Regions from separate parts of the Homo sapiens genome. Here region 2 is linked to region 1. The links are contacts of gene promoters, found by promoter capture Hi-C in blood cells and fetal thymus (Javierre and others, 2016). All regions are on one chromosome and are shown on one strand. The core of a region is centred on a gene start or on the middle of the fragment in contact, and the rest is flanking DNA. Distances in the headings are between cores, read along the strand shown. Region 1 holds the start of ADAMTS16 (ADAM metallopeptidase with thrombospondin type 1 motif 16). Region 2 overlaps LOC101929200 (a long non-coding RNA gene).

Region 1 (6,910 bases), core at 229-2,728:
AGAGACGGGGTTTCACCGTTTTAGCCGGGATGGTCTCGATCTCCTGACCTCGTGATCCGCCCGCCTCGGCCTCCCAAAGTGCTGGGATTACAGGCGTGAGCCACCGCGCCCGGCCTACTGCTCACTCTTTGGGTCCACTCTGCTTTCATGAGCTGTAACACTCACCGTGAAGATCTGCAGCTTCACTCCTGAGCCCAGCGAGACCACGAGCCCACCGGGAAGAACGAACAACTCCAGAGGCTCTGCCTTAAGAGCTGTAACACTCACCGCCTAGGTCTGCAGCTTCAATCCTGAGCCAGCGAGACCACGAACCCACCAGAAGGAAGAAACTCCGAACACATCTGAACATCAGAAGTAACAAACTCCAGACGCACCACCTTAAGAGCTGTACCCACTCACCGCGAGGGTATGCGGCTTCATTCTTGAAGTCAGTGAGACCAAGAACCCACCAATTCCAGACACACTATGGGCTCACAGCGTGTACTCGCGCACACGCAGTCAGGTGTGGATGTACACCCGCGCACACCCAGGCACATGTACACCCGCGCGCTCACACACCCCATCCAGCTACAGCAGAATTCTGGCCAGGCTGTTGACCGCACACCTGCTGCCTCCTTGGCCACCCTGTCCACACAGTAGCCCGATCGACCCCCGTGGCGGCCGAGACCCAGGCCCATCCGCAGCCCTGAGACCTCCCTAGGGATTGCACCCAGCAGCCAGTCACCGGCCTCCGCGGCCTGGCCAGTTGAGGGTGGCCGTGACCGCGGGGCCAGGAGCGCCGCCACATCTCGGGGCAAATGGCGCGGGGGAAGAGTTTCCTCCTCAGCCTCCCCGTCTCCGATCGCTCCGCAAACTCCAGAGCGAGGCACGCGCCTTTAAAGGCAGGTCCGCGGCTCTCCCACGTCCTGGCGCCCGGTTTTCCGCACCCAGTGTCCCCACAGCTGTGCCCGGGCACAGAGGCGCGGCCAGACCGCACTCCGCGGGCTGCAGGTGTCCCGGCCTCTGGCGGCGCCGGTGCGGCCCGGAGGTGGGAGCCCGCGGAGCCACTGCAGTAGCTGGAGTCCCGCCGAGTCCCCAGCCCCAAGGCAGGGCAGGAGCGCGCACCGGCCGGAGGTCCATGCTGAGCATCGCCCGCGCCGGTGCCCGGCAGCCTCTCCAACTGTGTGGTCCCCGCGCGGGCAGAGAGGCACGGACTGCAGGCCGTGGGCAGCTCCATCTTCCCGCGTCCTCCTCCTCTGGCGCTGCCCGCTGTCTCCCGCCTTCCCTCTGCTCCCCGCTCGCCTCCGCCTCAGCGCCCCGCTGACCTCGCCTCCTCCCCTCTGCTCTTTGTCCCTGCACTCTCCCCTCCTCGGTCCTCTGACCCCCCCGCCCTCACCTCCTCCCCTCCTCTCTCCCCTGCCCGCCCCGCGCTCTCCCACCGCTCCCGCCGCCCCCGCCGCCGCGGCTGCCACTCCGCCCCCCGCGCCGCACGGAGCTTCAGTAATAACCCCGGCGCGGCGGCGGAGTCGCTGTGGGGAATCCTCCCGCGCTCTGCCTGGGTCGGGTCCTCCCTGCCCGCTCGCACGCTGCCGGCCGGGGACCCTCCGGTGGCCCCTAGCCCCTCGGAGCGCTCCTGGATGAAGCCCCGCGCGCGCGGATGGCGGGGCTTGGCGGCGCTGTGGATGCTGTTGGCGCAGGTGGCCGAGCAGGTGAGTCCCGGGCGCTCCCACCAGCGCGGAAACCGCGGGTCCGGACAGCTGGAGGCGAGTCCCCCGCGGCTCCTCTCCCGCGGACCCCGCCGTCTCACCGCGATGTCGCCGCTGTTTTCCGCAGGCACCTGCGTGCGCCATGGGACCCGCAGCGGCAGCGCCTGGGAGCCCGAGCGTCCCGCGTCCTCCTCCACCCGCGGAGCGGCCGGGCTGGATGGAAAAGGGCGGTAAGTCCGTGAGGTGGGGGCTTCTAATCCTTGCCATTTAGCAGCTCGTAATCTCCGTGCCGCTGGTTTATTAGGTGCTGTGAATGTTCACGACTCTGTGGAACCCTACTTTTAAGATGCTGTTGTGAACTTTTTTTTTTTTTAACTGTATGAGCGAGCCCCGATGAGTGGATTTCCACCAATATTTACATTTTATTCCCTGGCAAAACGGTTTGCCAGAGTTATTGATATAACATTAGGAAAAAGGTGAGGAAGTTCATTTTATTTTATTCTAAAGAGCTTAGGAAGAATCTAAAGCTATTAATGTATGCATCAAAGCCGTCATAAAGAGCAAATTACTTTCTTTTCCGTCCCCTTCTACATCCTCGGATCCTCCTTCCCGTCCCCAACCTTTCCTCCTTCTCCTCCTTTATAGATTAAAATATTCCTCTATCGTTGCTTATTCTCAGTGAAGGAGATAAAAGAAGCGCTTAGCATCTCAATACCAAAGTTAATGCTCCAACAATCAGGGCGTACTTCAAACATAATAGTGCCTGAAATGGCTAATCAGCTGATTGTGACACCATCAGCAACGTTCATATCCTGGGCCACAATTTGACATGAGGGCAAGTCTTATTCTTTTTCAATGCATGCTTTTACTTCTGCCACTTACAAGTGACATTTGGAAATTTGCTGTCTTATGGAAAGGGATCTCTGTGTCTTCATACTGCATCAGGTAAATGAGAACGCAGGTGTGTCGCACTGGTTGCTAGGTGGTTTTTTAACCTGAACCCATCCAATGACAGTTAATAAATATTATTTTGCATTGTTACCAACAATAAATTGCCGTATCAAATGTTAATATTAATTGACTTTTATAGGAAGAACTAGGTTTCATTCTCTCAATGTATTTCCAGAAGATCTAGAAAATTAAAGTTAACAATTCAGAATTTCTCAGTATAGTTATTTCAATTTGATAAAATAACATAAAGGCAAGCACTTAATATATGCATTAACTTTTGAAATTATTCCCTGCCAAATGAGTACACAAATAGTATATAAGGTGACCGGTGTCAGATTGACGCTCACCATAGTACCTTTTTGAGAACCACCAGGGGGCGCTAGGTGCAAATGATATAAAATGTTAAAAAAAATTGTCACAGTGAATTTACAAGAGAAAGTTAATTATCTGTCCATTTACAGACTATCCTCTTGTGGTTGTCCTTGTCCTTTTTAGGGTTTTGCTTACAATACTAAAAGTTAATTCTTACAATTTTAAAGGTTAATTCTAATTCACCTTTTTAAGTAAGATTTTTGTAAAAAAAAAAAAAAAAATTCTAGTTCCCTAAAACCATGAAAATTCCAGAGGGACTCAGGAGATTTCCACAATAGTTTATGGCATTTATGAAGTTTTATTTAAGATAAAACACATTATAGACACAGAAGAAAGAAGAAGAAAAGCCAGGGCTTCGTGCCTAAGTGTGCTTTTCTCCTAAAGTGATTCAATCTGCTTCAGCATCCTCTCTGGGAGTGGGGTGCCAGTGTGCTGCTCTGAACACCTGGCACCACAGTTGTTGTCACAACGTATCGTCTCCATGACAACCACTTATCTGGCTTGGTAAGAACCTGAAGGGGAAGAGGCAAACCCTTCTTAGTGAAGTTCTAGCCCAGTGGACACAGCACACACCCTCCTCCCCTACCTTCTATGCACTTTAGCTCCTTAATTATAAATGGCTAATGTGTGAGTCTGGACATCCACAACAAGCTTTTATGCCACCAGAGAAAAGATCCTCCTCAACAGTGTTGCCTGTTTCCCTCTGACCTGGAGCAGAAGAGCTAGAAGACACTTGGTGACTGCTGGGGTCAACTTACTGTTGCCTGTCTAGGTATCCATTAGACAAGTTGGTTCTGAAATAACTAATTGTAGCCATACATTTTGTTTAAAGTAGCGCATGACTCAAACTATTATTGCAAATCATTCTTGGTGGCTGAAGTAATTACAAAATAGCAAAGAGAACAAAGCTGGAGGTGTCACACACTACCTACCTGACTTCAAACTATGCTACAAGGCTACAGTAACCAAAAAAGCATGGTACTGGTACCAAAACAGATATATAGATCAATAGAACAGAACAGAGACCTCAGAAATAACACCACGCATCTACAACCACCTGATCTTTGGCACATCTGACAAAAACAAGCAATGGGGAAAGGATTCCCTATTTAATAAATGGTGCTGGGAAAGCTGGCTAGCCATATGAAGAAAACCGAAACTGGACCCTTCCTTACACCTTATACAGAATCTAACTCAAGGTGGATTAACTATTTAAATGTTAAAACCTAAAACCAAAAGCAATTGCAACAAAGCCAAAACTGACAAATAAGATCTAATTAAACTAAAGAGCTTCTGCACAGCAAAAGAAACTATCATCAGAGTGAACAGGCAACCTAGAGAATGAGAGAAAATTGTTGTAATCTATCCATCTGACAATGGGCTAATATCCAGAATCTACAAGAAACTTAAACAAATTTAGAAGAAAAAAACAAACAACCCCATCAAAAAATGGGTGAAGTATATGAACAGACAATTTTCAAAAGAAGACATTTATGCGGCCAACAAACATATGAAAAAAACCTCATCATCATTGGTCATTAGAGAAATGCAAATCAAAACAACAACGAGATACCATCTCACGCCATTTAGAATGGCAATCTTTAAAAAGTCAGAAAACAACAGATTCTGGAGAGGATGTGGAGAAATAGGAACACTTTTACACAGTTGGTGGGAGTGTAAATTAGTTCAACCATTGTGGAAGACAGTGTGGCGATTCCTCAAGGATCTAGAACAAGAAATACCATTTGACCCAGCAATCCCATTACTGGGTATATACCCAGAGAATTATAAATCATTCTACTATTAAGACACATGCACACATATGTTTAGTGAAGCACTATTCACAATAGCAAAGACTTGGAACCAACCCAAATGCCCGTCAATGAGAGACTGGATAAAGAAAATGTGGCACATATACACCATGGAATTCTATGCAGCCATAAAAAAAGAATGAGTTCATGTCATTTGCAGGGACATGGATGAAGCTGGAAACCATCGTTCTCAGCAAACTAACACAGGAACAGAAAACCAAACACTGCATGTTCTCACTCGTAAGTGGGAGTTGAACACTGAGAACATATGGGCACAGGGAAAGGAACATCACACACCGGGCTTGTTGGGGGGTGAGGGGCAAGGGGAGGGATAGCATTAGAAATACCTAATGTAGATGGCAGGTTGATGGGTGCAGCAAACCACCATGATACATGTATACCTATGTAACAAACCTGTACGTTCTACACATGTATCCCAGAACTTAAATTATAACAAAAAAAAAATCAATGGTCACATGCTCACTAGCGAACATAATAACAATGCAGAGAATATAAAATAGAATTGTGCTAGTTTCTCTTCCTACCCCCCTCTGCCTTTACTATTTGCCTTCTGCATTTTGTCCAGATAATCTACAAGAATTTACTTATTGCCCTGTGTTCCTTACAGGCTACACTTTTTTTCCTTTAAAAGGTCACTTTGGCTTCAGAGCTTACAACGTACTTTGAAAGCTCATTATTTGATCAACTTTGCCTCATGTGGTGAAATAATATTTTAGATTTCATTCTTTTAGAGTATATTTTTACAAGCTTTAAGGTATTCCTTTCTATAGCTTTATGGTAATTTAGTTACCAATTATCCGTTGTTGATTATTGTTTAAAATTTTACCTCATTACAAATAATACTTCCATGAAAATATTTACATAAACTTTTTAAAATTCGTCTGGGATTATTTCCTCAGGGTGATTTCCCAGGTCAAAGTATTTTGCAACTCATTGCCAAAGCCGACTTTAGGAGGGTAGTGTCATTTTTATTTCCTGATATCAGCAGCGTTTGAAAGAGGTGGCCGGTGGTGGACTGATTTTTTGTTAATGCGATTGATTTCTATTTAGAAGGCTATACATCTCCTGCCACCTGTCCCACCCTTCTGTCTCTGTTTTCTGGATTCTCCTTCCCTGCTATCCTCTTAGGGTGCTCGTGAACATTCCTCTGCTCTTAGAGAGTTACAGGCTCTGTCTTTGAGTCTGGAGCAAGCTGCAGTCAGGTGCCATCTAAGCAGCCAACTGTGGAAAGAGTGGGAAGGGTGGAGCCCGTGGGAGATGCTCCTGTTGGGTGGGCGAGGCATGGAGCTCTGTCCGTCTCCCCCAGCCTTTTGGAATTGAGCTCTCCGAAAACAACTGGGGCCTCACGGGAGCCTTGCAGGGCTTCTTGGAGTTCAGTTTGCCTGAACGCGGAGATTATGAGCCTACCACTTATATATATGAGTTTTTAGATAGGACAAACTTTTCCTCTTGCAAGATTATTGTGTTTGAAGTCTTTCAAATACGTCTTTCCCATTTATGGAAAAAATACTGTATTAATAAAGACACCAAATCACTGTGAGAATAATTAAAATACATACATTTACAGTGAAATTAATTATATTAAAAACATTGCAATACTCAAAGCTCATCATTTCATAATTATTTCACTATATTTGATAATAATCTAGGCTCTTGAGGCCACTGGCCTCTTTTGCATCTGTATGGTAGAAATATCACACACTGGGGGCTGCTGCGTATCTCTGTGCACTGAATATTCAGTGATGGCACAGCAGTCATTGAAATCAGCCATGAGGGGAAGATTTACACCAGGGAAATTGGCAAATGCCAAAATCCAGGTCGTTCTTCTCCAGACAGCGGGTTGTTGAATGTTTATTACCACAGCATTGTGTTTATGTAAACATGGCTTACCAGTAGTTATTTTGCATGATAAATATTATATGTGCCCCCAGTAAAGGACGAATATTTTCTCTCTTCAAAATAAAGGTCATAAGAATATGACTTATTTCATCTGAGAATAATTTGATTTCTTAAAGAGTAATCACCTTTTTATACACAATAAAATGTGCTAACCTTCCACTGTTTGGAACA
Region 2 (6,910 bases), core at 4,411-6,910, 280 kb after region 1:
CAGCAAACTAACACAGGAACAGAAAACCAAATACCGCATGTTCTCATTCCTAAGTGGGAGTTGAACAATGAGACTATATGTACACAGGGAGGGGAACAACACACACCACAGCCTGTCGGGGATGGGGGGCAAGGGGACAGAGACCATTAGAACAAATACCTAATACATGTGGGGCTTAAAACCTAGATGATGGGTTGATAGGTGCAGCAAAACCACCATGGCCCAAGTATACCTGTGTAACAAACCTGCACGTTCTGCACATGTATCCTGGAACTTAAAGTAAAATAAAATTAATTAATTAATTAAAAAGAAAAGCAAATTGAGGAAGTGTGCATTAAGGAAATACACAAGAGGAATTACTACCACACTCATATTAAATTGGCTAAAATTAAGAGACTGATTATATCTAGTGTTGGCAAGGAAGGGGAGGAATTGGACACTCATATATACTGCTGGTAGGATGTAGTACAGCCTCTTTGGAATACACTTTGGGATCCTCGCTCCTTCTATTTCCATCTAACTCCACTGCCAGGACTGCAGCCATGCCTCCATTCTCTGTGTCCTGGATCACAGCCTGGTCCCTGGTGTCCTGGCTTCTTCTGCTGCCTTGTCCCAGTCCATCTCCCATGAGAGGCAGTATGAAATATGTTTAAAGTAAAGTCAGATTATGCCACTCCATTTCTTTAACCTCTTCAAAGATCTAAAACTTTTCTACCCTGGCTTACAAGACTCTACATGATCTGGCCTGTGCCCCATCCCTCCTCTTAAGTAAATCAATACCAAGTGGCTCCTTGTTCACTATAGTCTGGGTTACCTGAGCTGACTTCTGATGCTTTAACATGCCACATTCACTCCAGATAGGGAGACTTCCTGTCATTACTCCCACTGCCTGGAAGTTTGCTCTTGGTTTTTGTTGTCTTTTTTTCTCCAAAGAGACTTTATTTTTTAGAGCAGTTTTACTTTCACGGCAAAATCAAGCAAAAAGGACAGAGTTCTCATATACCACCTGCCCCCATGCATGCACAGCCTCCTCCACTATCAACACCACACTCATAGTGGTACGTTTGTTATAACCAGTGAGTTTACACTGACACATTGTTACGTGTCACGCCAAAGTTCATAGTCTACATTGGGGTTCACTCAGTGTTGGACATTTTAGGAGTTTTGACAAATGTAACACATGTATCCACCGCTATGATATACAGAATTCTTTCACTGCCCTAAAAATCCTTCTGCCTGTTCATCCCTTCCTCCCCTATCTCAAACCAAGGAAACCACTTTTTTTTTTTTTTAAAAATGTCTCTATCATTTCCCTTTTCTAGAATGCCATATAGTTGGAAGGACACAGCATGTAGCCTTTTCAGGTTGACTTCTTTCCCTTAGTAATGTTCATTTAAGGTTTCCCCATGCCTTTTCATGGCTTGAGAGCTCATTTATTTTTTAGCACTGTATAATATTCCATGGTTTGTGATATGGTTTGGATGTGTCCCCACCCAAACCTCATCTTGAATTGTAGCTCACATAATCCCCATGTGTTGTGGGAGAGACCCAGCGGGAGGTAATTGAATCACGAGGGTGATTACCCCCATGTTGCTATTCTCATGATAGTGAGTTCACACACGATCTGAGGGTTTTATAAGGGGCTTTTCCCGTATTTGTTTGACACTTCTCTTTCCTACTGCCATGTGAAGGGCATGTTTGCTTCCCCCTTCCTCCATGATTGTAAGTTTCCTGAGGCCTCCCCAGCCCTGTGGAACTGTGAGTCAATTACACCTCTTTCCTTTATAAATTACCCAGTCTTGGGCAGTTCTTTATAGTAGTGTGAGAACAGACTAATTCAGTCTGCATGCATCCCAGTTGATTTATCCATTCACCTACTAAAGGAACATCTTGCTTTCTTCCATGTTTTGACAATTCTGAATAAAGCTGCTTAAATATTCATGTGCAGGACTGTGTGTGATGTTAAGTTTCAACTCATGTGCAGGATTGTGTGTGATGTTAAGTTTCAACTCATCTCGGTAAAGACCAAGGAGCATGATTGCTGCAGCTTTTGCTTTTTAACCTCACTGGATTATACTTTTACCCAGATATCAGCTGTTTAACATATTAATGTATTAATTCACTCAGCTTACTGATTCAGCAATCATTTCTTGGTAACTGATGTTTAGGAGACACGGTCTGGGTGTTGGGGACATGACAGTAAGTAGAGTGGGTTCTGCCCACTGGCACGGATGTCAGGGCACAAGGACTGGAGAGGATGATGCACACAGTGAGAGGTGCTGGGAGTCACACACATGCTGACTATGGCTGGCTGACCCCGTGACAGGGCGTGGGAGTAAAGAGGAGTCAGACAAACTCCTCAGTTTTCGGTCCTAGCAAGTGGGAGAACAGGGGCACATGCAGGCATCGTGCTGCAGGGAGATGCTCCTCGCAGGACCCAGGACAGAACCGGCTGCCAGGGATGGCAGCGACCATGATGGCTGTGGTGGGACAGGCAGACAGCTATCTTACCAACAGAACTCATGCTGCTTATATGTGGCGAGGAGACAAAGGAAAAAAAGGGAAGGACCAAGAATGATACCAAAAAAAAAAACCAAAAAAGTTTGATATTCAAAACTCTATCAAGGACATTTCCCATAGAAACTGGACTTGAATGGACCTTAGAGAACTGGTTGGATTTACTGCCTAGGATGGAAGGGGGTGCCACTTGCACGCCAAGCCCAATATTGCAGAGGGGCTGATTGGAGCTGTGCACTGTGAAGGATGAGAGCTGGGCACACACAACAACTGAGGAATTCATTGGGAGGTGAGTCAGAAGGAGGAGGAGGATGAAGAGGAAGAGGAGGAGGAGGGTGAGGAGGAGGGAGAGGGGAAGGAGGACGGGGAGGGAGGGGGAAGGAGGGGGAGGAGGAGGAGGAGGAGAAGGGGCTGCACATGCCTCAGCAAGGGCAGTACTGAGCAGAAGATGATCATAAAGTCACTTCCTCCATGTCTTGGTTTTTAAATCATTGCTGTCTGTGGGATTTGTCCTCTGGGCTCCTTCTTACCCCAGATGCAGTCTTGGGCACACACCCTAGCCTTTCCAGTCACTCGGAGACAACACAGTCCAGTGTGATGTGCTGTCACTTATTTCCTGTCTTCAACTTAGCTTCTTACCCATGGAGCTGGTGGCCGTTCTTAGACGCTAGCAAGATGGGTGTGGGTGGGTGGGAATGGGGCAAGACAGGCTTTTCCTCTGTTCCAACATTTTCCTTATTCACCAGCTTGTTTGTGACCCCTCCAAGCTTGGGGTAGGAGAAGGGATCAGGAGAAAAAGATGCAGTCTTTGTAACCTGGCTTCCCAAAGTGCTTGAGTCATAGTCCAAGAACAAAGAACAGGCTGGTGGGGTGGGCTTCTCTCCTGCAGCGAGCTCCTTGGGACGGAAGAGCATCTTCCGCACAGGACTGGGGCAGAGCTCAGCCAGGAGACCCACATTACACCCAGATTATTTTAAGAGAGAAAAGGTAAAAGCAAAACACTAAAATATCACAGGAGGAGCCACCGCAAGAAGCAGCTGACACCTTGGGCTGGAGAGAATAAAAGAAGGAGGAAGGAGTGAGCAAAACTCAGAAATGTGGAGGAGCTGCCACCCAGAAATCACACTCAGACATATGAAGAAGGGACCTTCTGGGCTGGTGCTGAGGCCTCTGCTCTTGGACTCAGGGCTCTGTGGAGCTGGGAAACCAACTTTGCTGGTATCTCCGAGGGGATGCTATGAGGCTGGCTCTGCGTGTGTCAGAGAAACTGCAGACCCAATTCGTATGCCGCTCTGTTCATGAACTGCCACTGCCAGGTGCGAAAGCAAGGATAGCAAGACGCTAGCAGGACCAGGAGTCGGACAGGACAGAATGGGAGGCACAGGCCCCTCTCCTACCTCTTATCTTCTGGTTTCCTTGTGTATATCTGTTGGCACAGCTGAACAGAACTCTGGCAGGAGAGGTGGCACGTGGCTCCCCAGTCCCTACGTCACAAGGCAGAGTATAAAAGGGAAGGTGTGGGGCCGAGAGACAGTAACTTAACCACCAGCTCAGGGTCCTGGGATTCATCCCTCTTCCAGTCAGCAGGAAGTGACAAAGAGCACAGGAAGGCCCTAGGGGCCAGGCCCCTTTTGCTGATGTTTGGCTGGTAGAACTTAATCACATGTCAGGTGCAGGGAGGCTGGGGAATAACTAGACAGAATAGAAACAAGTTTTGGTGAGTGGCTGCCACTGGTGCTGTGTGGATACAGTTCAAAGTGAGGACTTTCCAGCTGTGGACATCCAGCTACAGTTCTTTGAATGGGGGATGGAAGAGCAAAGTTTTATTTCTGGCTGCTCACTTTGCCTCAGCCTCGCTTTCCTCGCAGCTCCCACTGAAATGCCCACCGTATCCAGTATGCAGAACTCCTGCTCATCCCAGTGCGGGTGAGCATGCGGCTCAGTCACCTCCAACCCATCTCCTGGAGCTGTCCCACGGTTCCCTTGGAACCACTCTAGGGCATGTAGCATCTGACTCTGAGTGCTTCACTTCGTGGGGGCACTGATTAAAACAAAGCTCTGGAATATAGCATCATCGAGAGGCAACTGTTGATTTAATTTATTAACATATACATCCACTGAAATGGCTGCTAGATGTGGTCTAGAAACCAAGGAGACCCCCCACTGGCCTCAGGTGAAGGGGAAACATGTCCCTCCCTTTCCTATCCCTCCTCAGAGTTAGGTGGGACATGCCCTTGCCAGCTGCTCTACAGAGAATCCCCTCCTCAACACCTGTCACCTCTGAGCACCTGCCGCCTTCTTCCTCCGATCCCGGAAGCTACAAGAAGCTTCTCGTGTGACCAACTCTTACAGCCGCCAGGTGTTCACAAACCCGCAAGGCAGAGTGGGCTTGTCCTCCTTTACAGAGGGCGACTGCAATGTGAGAGTTGTGAAAGTCCTTTCAAATGTTGCTTTTTTTTTTTTTACTTTTCTCAATCAGCTTTCTCAGGTTGAAGAAAATTTTGCTTAATAATCATATCAGTTTTGCTTTCTATTTCAAACTAATTGTTTCAAAACTAAATTTTATTTGTCCGGTTTCTAAGTAACATCAGTGTTTCAGGAAGAAGCAACATGTTTACTCTCTGGCTTCAAATCACTTTGAGGGTAAGAGCTGAGGCTGTGAGCAAATTGCTGATGTCTGAGGACAAGTCGAAACCCCACCACTATAACCCTGAGTGTTGAGAAAAACTGGAGCAAAGACAGCTTAGGACTAAGCCTGGTGGAACGTGTGTGGGCGGATAGCAAAGTGGTTCCCACAAGACGCCTTCCACCCTAGGATGCCCCAGAGGATGGCCTTTCCCCTCAGCAAGAAGGTTCGGTTAAGTCCTAATACCGTCGGAAATTCTATTTATGTGGAAAACACACAGGGAAAGACAGACATCTTGTGGGCATATGGTAGCATTACATCACAGGTCTGGAAATTAATACCTAATAATCAGGGGGTCATATCATTGAATAACACACTGTTAGTCACAAACAATTCCATCAAACATCTCTCCAATTAAAAGAAACAAATGAACATATAGTTCATTTTTCTTACAGTTAAATGCATCAATTAAAAGCACAGCCTTGAACTTCCAAAGAATAGACAGCTTTCCATTTTGAGTTCTCCTTGGTTTCTAGACCATATCTATTAGCCATTTCAGTGGAAGTATATGTTAATAAACTAAATCAACAGTTACCTCTCAATGATGCTAATTCCAGAGCTTTCGTTTTAAGCAGACACCAAGTATCTGAGAGGTAATGAGCGTGTGGGGTGAGAAGTGAGACTTTTTGAGTTGGATCCTCTGAACAGCTGGCTGGATTCGACAGGCACAGGGAATCCCAAGACCAGAGACTGGAATGCAGACATTCCTCCGGGTCTTAGGGCTTCTCTGGCAGAAAAACAACAAGTTTATCTTGGAAGTTTGACAGGAAAAATGCTTTTAAAGAAAAAGCAAACCATCTTTTTCCTATGAGTCAGTTGAAGATATATTTATCTCCTTTCCAAAATGGATACCACCATCAATAAATTATTAATAACTATTTGTCTAGTGAATCCTATAGAGTGGGTCCCATCCTTGTCACTTTTTACTTAAATTACCGTTGGTCCTCTGTAAGGAAACACCAGCACAAATAGGTCATTTGCGTAAGAATTTAAAGACAGATGTGTGGTTCCAAAGCCATAGTTCACCACTTGCAGTATACACACTTGCTTGTTTGTTTCCATCGTGATGAAAAAACAGGTGTGGCCCATCATGCAGGAAAGAGAAAAAATGTAATTCTGACCATTCCTCAATTAGTGGCCTACTACATTTTCATTATGACCAATAATCACACCTGTTTTTTTACACCCTGCATGTTAAGAATGACTTTCACATTTTGAAGTTTCTTAAATAAACAGAAGGTGACAAATAGGTGGCACAGACCTGTGTGACCTACAAAGCTTAAATATTTACCATGTGGCTCTTCAGAGTCTGCCTATCCCTGCATTACGTAAACAAGACTCGTTTTCATTAGATGTCTTGAGAACTGGCTTTGAGAAAGGTAGGAGAAAATACACTTTTATTAACATTTTTGAAGGGAAATATTTGTTGTTTCTTACCTTCAATTATTTGCAGCACATTTGATTCTTTCTGACTTTCATTTAACATCTACTATGCAGCACTTTGCAGCATTTAAAGGGAAGACTCATCTGTAAGACATAAAAACCACCATCATCCAACTCAAAATGTGATGTTACTAAAAATTACTCCGTGCTAAGGGGATTTTTTGCCCCTTAGGTGGCAGATCCTTGGGGTTGTGGAGGTAAACCCCGGAGCCTGGAAGAGCAGGTAGGATTTCTACACCTAGAGCTAGAAGGAAGCGTGTTCCA

Evidence for each region. The method cuts DNA at HindIII sites, captures the fragments that hold promoters and counts their contacts. A CHiCAGO score of 5 or more calls a contact.
Region 2: a fragment that was not itself captured here is called in contact with the fragment with the promoter of ADAMTS16 in region 1 in 16 of 17 cell types (megakaryocytes, M0 macrophages, endothelial precursors and 13 more); the score reaches 55.5 in megakaryocytes.

The regions. Positions count from the first base shown.
Region 1 is chr5:5,138,852-5,145,761 of GRCh38, forward strand. ADAMTS16 (ADAM metallopeptidase with thrombospondin type 1 motif 16) reads left to right here and starts at 1,479. Exons shown (of 23, transcript NM_139056.4): 1 at 1,479-1,688; 2 at 1,813-1,915. The coding sequence starts at 1,617. It overlaps ADAMTS16-DT (ADAMTS16 divergent transcript), which reads right to left and starts at 1,203. Exons shown (of 4, transcript NR_109915.1): 1 at 1,105-1,203. It overlaps ADAMTS16-AS1 (ADAMTS16 antisense RNA 1), which reads right to left. Exons shown (of 2, transcript NR_198969.1): 2 at 3,287-3,520. RefSeq lists enhancers at 685-1,251, 6,611-6,910. The HindIII fragment of the contact is 3,896 bases long and covers 1-3,657 here.
Region 2 is chr5:5,414,111-5,421,020 of GRCh38, forward strand. It overlaps LOC101929200 (a long non-coding RNA gene), which reads right to left. Exons shown (of 6, transcript XR_001742583.3): 2 at 6,641-6,730. Among named protein-coding and RNA genes, the nearest start is that of ICE1, 5.1 kb to the right of the region's middle. RefSeq lists an enhancer at 5,173-5,242. The HindIII fragment of the contact is 1,637 bases long and covers 4,843-6,479 here.